Regions from separate parts of the Homo sapiens genome. Here region 2 is linked to region 1. The links are contacts of gene promoters, found by promoter capture Hi-C in human tissues and cell types (Jung and others, 2019). All regions are on one chromosome and are shown on one strand. Each heading gives the region's core, a stretch centred on a gene start or on the middle of the fragment in contact. The rest is flanking DNA. Distances are from core to core; before and after follow the strand shown. Region 1 holds the start of FGF19 (fibroblast growth factor 19). Region 2 has its middle 47 kb from the start of FGF3.

Region 1 (4,378 bases), core at 1,389-3,888:
GATGTCAGGAGTTCGAGACCAGCCTGGCCAGGATGGTGAAACCTCATCTCTACTAAAAATACAAAAAAACTAGCCGGTCATGGTGGCACGGTGCCCGTAATCCCAGCTACTTGGGAGGCTGAGGCAGGAGAATTGCTTGAACCCCGCAGGTGGAGGTTGCAGTGAGCCAAGATCATACCACTGTACTCCAGCCTGGGCGACAGAGCAAGCGAGACTCCGTCTCAAAAAAAAAAAAAAAAAAAAAAAGATCCTCAATTTCTGTTAGACCATGCACAGGGGATCAAGAGGCACAAAGGGGGCTGGGCGCGGTGGCTCACACCTCTAATCCCAAAGCACTTTGGGAGGCCGAGACGGCCGGATCACTTGAGGTCGGGAGTTCAAGACCAGCCTGGCCACCAACATGGTGAAACCCCATCTCTACCCAAAATACAAAAGGTAGCTGGGCTTGGTGGTGGGTACCTGTAATCCCAGCTCCATGGGAGGCTGAGGTAGCAGAAACGCTTGAACCTGGGAGGCACAGGTTGCAGTGAGCCGAGATCTGGCCACTGCATTCCAGCCTGGGCGACAGAGCAAGACTCTGCCAAAAAAAAAAAAAAAAAAAAAAAAAAAAGGCACAGAGGGATTTCAGGTGACCCAACCCCCAATTTGGGCAGAATGGCGGGTTAGGTTGACGTCCCCTGCTGGCCTCCCATCATTAGGAACCCCCACACCCCCTGCCATAGTAAATGTCAAAATTAAAGTTGCAAGGGTGGGTTTGGAGCGGCTCTGGGTGGGAGTCAGCGTCCAGCGTGCCGACCACCCCCTTTCTCTGCAGTCCTCTCACGCAGGACTCCGCCATAAAACCTGAAACAGGCGCTCCGAGTACACGGAGCACGGCAGAGGCACCGAGCAATTTTGAGACTCTAAAATGCTTTGTCCCGCTGTTCACAAAGGAGCTGGTTGGGCCGGAGGCGGCCCCGCCTCTGCATCCTTTCTGGGGTGGGGGCCCCGGGCAGGCGCGGCCACCCCCGCCCTGGCCCCTGCTCCGCCAGGGAGTCCGGGGCTGCGTGTGAGGCCTGCGCGGGCCGAGACCTCACACAGCCTCCTCTGCGCGCGGGGCCGCGGGAGGGGCGCGGGTTCGTTCCTTTGAACTCCCAGCCTTTGTTCCCGGCCACCAGAGCCCCAGCGCTCGTACACTTCCGGCCCCGGGACCTCTGCGGTTACCTGGGCCTTCCCTGCCAGCCCCCACCCCCTGCCCCCACCAGAAAGCGTTTACAGGACAGGTGAGGCCCGCAGGAGGAAAAGCACTCCCCTGGCGCAACATGACTCCAGCGCATCTGCGTCTAAGCCACACCGTGCTCCTGGTAGATTAAAAATTAATTCTAAAAAAAAAATCTCTCCTATCCCAAATGCACTGTTTTCTGCCTTGCTTGACAATTGATTTGTTTTTAAAGGAAAGTTATGGGTAGATCCTCTTTTTTCTTTCCCATTCTTTTTTTCTTCTTTTATACTGGAGGGAGGGAAACGGAGGCGAGGACCACACACGCGCAGGCAGAGGCTGAAAAGGCCCGAGGTGGGTTTTCCTGTTTAATATCAAAGGAGGCCGAATAATGGGTTTCCTCGGTCCGGCTAGGCCGGCCTTTGACTCAATTGGAAATGCAAAGGCAGCTTTTGCCTATTCTCTGGCTGCTGGCTGAGACCCTAAATTTCCGTAGGAAATCGTCGGACATGCACTTAATCGGTCTTTGCAATCTTTCCCTCGAAGTTGCACGCGGGTCTGGGCGGAGGAGGCGAGGAAACCCTGGATTCGAACCAGCGCCTTTCTCTCCTTCAGGCCTCCGCCCGGGGACAGGCGCCGGTCCCCCGCCCCGGCGCATCCGCCCCGTGGGGACACTTACCAGCCCCTGCATCTTGCCGTCGGCGCCCATGCAGAGGTACCGCACGCTGTGCACGCCCTTGATGGCCACGGTCCGCAGAGCGACTGCCTTGATCTCCAGCAAACCTAGGCGCAGGGGAAGCGAGAAGCTGCAGCAAGGACCGCTGGGCCCGCACCACGTGGGTGCGGTCGGTCCACAAGCCTGTGCTTCTCCCTAGCGTCCCGCGCTGTTTGGGGACTAACGGAGGGATCCTAACGTCCAGGTGCCAAAACCTGGGGTTCCCAGGAGTTGAGGGGTCCGCAGGAGCCTAAGGGTGGCAAAGGAAGGAAGGGCGCTGGGGTGGGGCGCGCGCAGCGGGGTGGGGTGCGCGCGGCGGGGCGGGCGGGGGTGCTGGCGGGCACTCACTGTGCGCGCTCTGGCCCCGCGCGCAGTCCACGACGCCGTCGGCACGGATGCGCAGGAAGCAGCTGGAGAGCCCGTGGGGGCCGGAGGTGTACAGGTGCCGCAGGCGGATGGGGTCGCCCCAGCCGTAGTGCACGTGGGGCCCCGCGTCCGAGAAGGCGAGGGGGCGCCCGGCCACGGCCAGCCAGAGGCCGGCCAGGATCCATACGTGGACCACCACACACCCGCTCCGCATGGCACCTCCCTGGGGCTCTCGGCGCAGCTCCGGCGATGGGGGTGCGGGAGGCTGGGCGGCGACCGGGATGCGCTGCGGGGCTGTGAGTGCCGGGTTGGGATGGTCGTGGCCCTAGATCCTGGACGCAGCGCTCCTGCTCTGACGGCGCGGCGGCTCCGGGCCGGCAGCCTTATATAGTAGCGCCTTACGGGCCCCACGGGTAGGTGCCCAAGACACCCGAGCATTTCTTATCGGGATTGCATCAAGCCTCCGCCCCCCGCACACACCCACTCACACCCCGCCTCCGGCCCCAGCCCCAGCCCCCTCCCCGGGCCCGGGCAGGCAGGCGGCGGCTTCTTGTCCCAGCCGGGGTGACCCCGCCCAGGCCGTTCGGATCTGCGGGAGGAGGAGGCCTCGCTTAGCGGCCGGGTTTCGGGGAACTCCTCCCCACCGCGCAGCGGCCCCGAGGTTCTTGGCTGGGAGAGTTTGACTTTGTAAAGCAATCGACAACTGGGGCCCTTCCCCCAGGCCTCAGGCTCCCAGTGGATGCACTCGGCGTGGGGCACTAGCGGGGGCGGGGTCAGGAACCCCGGGGCCAGAGGTTGGGGGGCACCGAGTTTTGCCCCCTTCACCCTCTGTCGGGAAAAGCCTCACCTCGGCCTTAGTGCCCTTCCCCTTAAAAGCCCACTCGCACTCCCTCCCCCGACTTTCGCAGCCCCGCACATCTGACGTCAAAGCCGTCCCGTAGAATTTTCCCCGGCAGTTCCGACAGTCTCAGGTTCTTTCAGCTTCATCTTCTTGCAATTCCTGCCCCGCCCCTTTTATCCGGGTAAATTGCCCCCCGACGGGGGGCCGGGCGCGCTCTCGGCCGGCGGGGAAACAATGGAAGCCGCGCGGACTGTAGGTGGCGCCGCAGCCTCGGCGTCCGCCTGGGCTTTGCGCTCCTGGCCCCGCGCCCCTGCCTGCTCCGCGCTCGCCCCGGCCCCGCGGCTGTGCGCGAGATGCAACCTGAAAGGGGGCACTGGGAAGGAGGCTCTCGGGCAGGGTGGGCGGGCCAGCTGCGGGATTGGTGAACCCCAGCTTCTCGGCTGGAGGGTGGTGGAGGCAGGGGCGCAGGGAGGGAGGCCTGGGCCTCCGTTTCCCGTTTTTTGAGCTGTCTTGTGTCGGGGGTCTGGTTTTTGAGTCCCCGAGTCCCTGCGCACGGGGTCAGGAGGAACAGCACGGTCGGGGAGGTCGAGAGCGCCTTACCTGGTGGGGAGGGGTCGGGAAGGGGCCCAGGAACGGTGATGGGCGCCCCTGGCGTCCGGGCAGGTGCCAGGTGAGGAAAGAAATGGGGGCCGCTCCATGAAGCGGTTCCTGCCAATAAAGAAAACGACATCCAGAGAATACCCAGGCGGGGAATAAAGGGGTCCTCCTACGGGGCTTTGGTTTAACTCTAATTATTTCTTGTTATTCTTCCAAACCCCCAGCTCCTGGATGTGGGGCCCCAGGAGGCTGGTTTTGGGGGCAGAGCCCTCCTGGCCCAGCGCAAAGGCGATGGGGAGGGCAAACAGGAGAGACAGCGAGAGAAATGCCAGGCCTAATGAATTTCAATGAGCAGAGGCCACATTCATTCCCCAGTCAGTGACTGGCGTTAATGACTGAGGGCGCAGCAAATGTCACCAGGAAAGTCTTTACAAAAAGACATCATCCCGAAGGCTTTCTAGACCAGGGACCCCCACGCTGTGTGTCTTGGTTCAGAAAGCCGTGGCTTCTGTTAAATCTAATTACTTCCCCCCTGTGGCTTTAAATCGACGGCGGCTCCTATTAAACTTAATTACCCTCCCCTGCAGCTTTCGTTTTAAAGATCCGTGGTAAATGCGTGATAAATGCTCTTGAGGGCGATGGCAGAGGCTGCACTGGGGGA
Region 2 (4,378 bases), core at 1,148-3,647, 160 kb after region 1:
GAGCCACAAGTAGCCGCACACGGCCGGGGCCTCAAGTGTCCACCTTGATTTAGGTCAATGCTGCCTTCTTTCCCCCACCCCTCCTTTCATCCCACCACCCCCTTAAATGGTGGGCCAGGCTATGGTGCCCTGGAGGCCACTGTTCCTTTTGCTCCAAGTTTTCAGCTCTGTGGGCTGTGGGGCAGGTGACTCAGGCCAAGCAGATGCGTTGCATCCTGCTGGGAAAACTCGATTTTGTAGACATTTGCCAGGATTGCCACTGAACATTTGGGGGGGTGGGGTGGGTGCAGTGGGGGACAGAAATGGCAGGAGTAGGGGCCGTGCAGTGGCCAGGCTGTGGGGGAGGAAAGGCAGGGAGCACGGTGGCCTCTGCCACCTCTAGGAATGGGCAGAGAGCCCCAGGGAGGCCCCTTTGACCTGCAGTGTGACCTCGGGAAGGCCCCTCCGCATCTCTGGTCTTGGGTGAAATCATTGAAAATACAAGGAAATAGAGAGAAGGCCATGCTAGGTGCGTTCTGAGGGCTGGAGGTGCCGTGGGACCCATCCACGTGGTCTCTCCTTCCCTGAGCTCACACCACAGGGAGGGAGGGAACCAGTGCCCAGTCTGGTTTCTGGGGAGGGGAGAAGCGAGAGGAAGAAAGTAAAGCAGAGGTGAGCAGGAGGCAGCTGGAGCAGCGTAGGAGGGGGACGTGGAAGCAGCGTTAGGGCGGGAGGGTGACCTCTGAGCAGAGGGTGGAGAAGAGCCCAGCCATGCCCGGGAGTGGGGATGCAGGAGAGACTGTAGGCAGAGGCAGCTGCTGGAGGTGAAGCCCAGGGCTGGCTGGGCACCTTCCCATGGTGGAGACCGAGCTCGTGCCCAGCACAGAATGGTGGATGGGGTGATGGGGGGAGGCTCAGCCAGGAGGGTCCCTGGGACTGCAGAGGCAGCCGCTGGGGCATGGATGTGAGTGGGTGGCGGGTGCACAGGGACTGAAAAGAGCCTGGCCTTTGGGGGTCAGAGCCCCGGGTTGGCATCCGTTTCCTCTCTCACTGGGGTGGAGATACTGGCAAGGACGGGGTGATGGCCTGAGCTCTGGACATCAGGAGCAAGGTGCTGTCAGCCCAGAGAGGGGTGGCTTCCTACTCACGGTCACACAGCCGGTGAGTCACAAAGCTGGGTTCTCAGCCCCTCTCTTTGGCTTGGGCCCAGTCATGAGACAGCTGTGGGAGCCCCGCATACAACAGGCTCCCGTGGAGGGAGAACCCAAGGCACCCGACAAGGTGGGCGTATTGAAGAGAAGAAACCAGGGGCCAGAACCGACTCAAGCCTCCGTCCTGAGAGCAGCACCCTGGAGTGGAATCCCACGGGCCTGCAAGAGACAAGCCGGGCCGTGCTTCCTGCCAGCACCTGGCCTGCTGCAGCCCACCTTTCTGTCCACCTGCGGGGCTCGACTCCACCACAGCCACCTCCTCCAGGAAGTCTGCCCAGATCCCCCCTCCCCTGCTGGTGTCCCAGTAAGCTCCTGCTGTTTACCTGCCCATCTCCCCTGCTGGCCCACAACTCTCGGTGTTTTATCTCCATTTCCCTTTGGCTGCACCCAGGAGATGTGACTTCGAACTAAGTAAGTGGATGTGTGGAAGGCGGGGGTGTCACAAAAGGGCTCACCCCAGGATCCCTGAGGTCAACCCTGACCCCCTGATTCTTATGTTTACCATGAGAACTGACCCCTGAAAACTCTATTTCCTAGACATTTGCCAGGACTGCCACTGAGCATGCAATGGCGGGTGGGGGCGGAGGTGCAGCAGGAGAAATGGCAGGAGTAGGGGCTTGCAGTGGCCAGGCTGTGGGGGAGGAAAAGCATGGAGCACGGTGGCCTCTGGCACCTCTGGGAACAGGCAATGCCCCAGGGAGGCCCCTCACCCCATGCTCACAATTCCATCTGCAGCTCAAAGGCTCAACGCATCATGTGATCACAAGCTTGACCTCCTCCTCTTTGTGCCTCAGTTTCTCCATCTGGAAAAACGGGTAGCTTTTGCCAGTCTTTCCGAGCTTCAGAATTCCAAGGGCAGAATTTCAGAAAGATGGCCACCAGAGGCTCCTTGGGGCCTACATATGTCCTTGTGCTTCTTTAGCTTAACATTCTGACAGTTCTCAAACTCCTCTGCTCACTTAAAGGGCCTTTCTGGAGTGTGTCGTGGTCTATCAGCTTTTTTCCACCCTTAGTGGAGTATAAAATAATGTTGTATCTTACAACAATTGGTGATACCTTATATTCTATAAAATATGGTGATGCCAACCGTTTCCCATTTCTAATAGTGCCTTATCTTCATTTAATCCTAGCAACAACCCCAGGAGGTAGTTACTATTATTATCCCATTTTACAGAGAAGGATAAGAGAAGTCAACGCCTCACCTAAGGCCACACAGCAATTTACCCACGGAGACTGGACAGTGTCAGACAGCCTGGGCAAGGTGCTGGGGCAGCCTCCTGGGATGTCGAGGTTTTCACAGGGCCTTAATGAATGGTGCAGTTTCTGGTGGAAAGACATTTGCTCCCTGTGACATTCTGGACAGAAGCGTGGCTTAGCAACAGTGCAGAGGCAGGACAAGGGAGACATTTAGGAGCCAGGGAGGCTCTCGGTGGGCTGAAGCTTAAACGGAATGTCTGGAGTTTTGATCATCAGGGGTGTTAGGCCCAGATTGTACAGGGCTTTGAATCCCTGTGCAAGAAAGAGGTCCTTTGGGAGGCAATAGGGAGCCATTGAAGGCTTTAGAGTAGGAGCATTGCAAGGCTGGAGCAATGTCTGCATAGCCTCTATGCATTCAGCCTAAAACCAAGCTCCTTTGGCCGGCATGCAAGGCCTGCTACAACCAGGCCTTTGTCAGTCACCCCACCAGTGCCCTCCACCCCATGCCTTCCCCCACACACTGCTTTAGCCACACTGACACTTTCTCTGTTCCTGAGCTGACAAATGTGTTCTTCCCACAGGTCTCCCCAGGCTCAATGTCCCTCGCCTTCGCCTCCCACCATCGCCCAGCTTCACTGTCTTTAACACACCGACCACAATCCGAAACCATCCTGTTGTCTGTGTCGTCATTACCTGCCTCTCACCAAGCACAGATTCACTCAGGATGGGGCTATCCTGTTCACCAGTCTATGCACAGCGCATGCCACAGAGAGGGCTTTGAAATGAGTCAATCAATCAACGGATGGGCTTATTCCTCCCACAGGGCATGTGTGTGTCTATTTTATGATCACGTGGGTAGCAGCTGGCTGCGAAGGGGATGAGCTTGGACATCCCACCACCGTTTTCTTCCCTCTGCTTGTTCCTGCTGCCACAGCCCATGGGGTCAGATGATCAGGTGTGGTCCTAGCCAGGTCCCGAGCGTGTCTGAGTAACAGGGAGCGAGGAATAGATCAACACAGGCTTAGCCACAGGCGGCTGTACCAGGCATTCACGTTCGGCCCCCTTCCCCATTCTGATGCTCCATCAGCATTTCCATGGCAGGGAAGCAGAGGCTGAGAGGAGATGTTTCCTGAGCTTTTCTAAGCACTGAGCACGGGCTGAGGCCTTGCCCTGTGTAACACTTTGGCCTTTTCCGTGGTTCCTCGCAACAGCCTTGTGCTGCAGCAGTGGCTGGTGGTTTCATGAGTTCCATTTATCGGATGAGACTCAGCGAGACCTCAAGGCTTGTCCTCAGCCGCCAGGCCAGGGACTCAGCTGGATGGCATCCGGGCCAGTGACTCCCACTGGCTCTTTGCCCGGGCCCCACTGCTCCAGCTGCCCCATGCGTGACCTGGTCCCAAAACCTTGTCCAGCCTGGTGTGTAAACAGGCTTCCCTCACGGCTGAGGCCAGTTTGATGTGCCTGGCACAGGGCCTGACACCAGCATGTGCTCCGCCAGCAGCAGCGTGGTGACATCATCATCGTCATCGTCACCATCCTCAACTGGGGAGTTTGCATCTGACTCAAAGTCGAACTCGCCCTCTGGAAGCGGGAGCTGTTTACGGGGAACAGAAGAGCAAAGCCCAGGTCCTGAGCTGCCACCCCTTGTATGGGGACAGGGACCCAGGCCCTTGTGGGCACCCAGGGAGTCTCTGGCCCACCCCACTCATGGGGGCCGTGCACCTTTGGAATCCCTTGTGCCTTGCCCCTTCTTCCGTCCACCGGCAGAGCTAGGTCCCACATAAAAAAGGGCTTGAGGTGGGCGAGCGCCTGCCTTTGTCATCCAGTGCCATTAAGGCCGGAATTTCTCATGGGAAAAGGAGCATTTTGGCTGCATGAAAGGTGGGGGGGTGCAGCACGGCCTGGGTTCCAGGGACGCCCGACCTGGAGCCGTTTGAAGTCCACCCGTTATCTGCCGCTGGGGCTGTTTGGCTTCTGTGGGGGCATAAACA

Evidence for each region. Contacts are between HindIII fragments. The study calls those that stand out against the background at their distance.
Region 2: a fragment that was not itself captured here is called in contact with the fragment with the promoter of FGF19 in region 1 in 2 of the 25 tissues and cell types used here (aorta and bladder).

The regions. Positions count from the first base shown.
Region 1 is chr11:69,701,384-69,705,761 of GRCh38, forward strand. It overlaps FGF19 (fibroblast growth factor 19), which reads right to left and starts at 2,639. Exons shown (of 3, transcript NM_005117.3): 1 at 2,262-2,639; 2 at 1,878-1,981. The coding sequence starts at 2,493. RefSeq lists a promoter at 2,712-4,378 and an enhancer at 4,048-4,378. The HindIII fragment of the contact is 36,944 bases long and covers 1-4,378 here.
Region 2 is chr11:69,864,082-69,868,459 of GRCh38, forward strand. No RefSeq gene overlaps it. Among named protein-coding and RNA genes, the nearest start is that of FGF3, 47 kb to the left of the region's middle. RefSeq lists enhancers at 676-1,233, 1,234-1,791, 1,792-2,349. The HindIII fragment of the contact is 4,926 bases long and covers 1-4,378 here.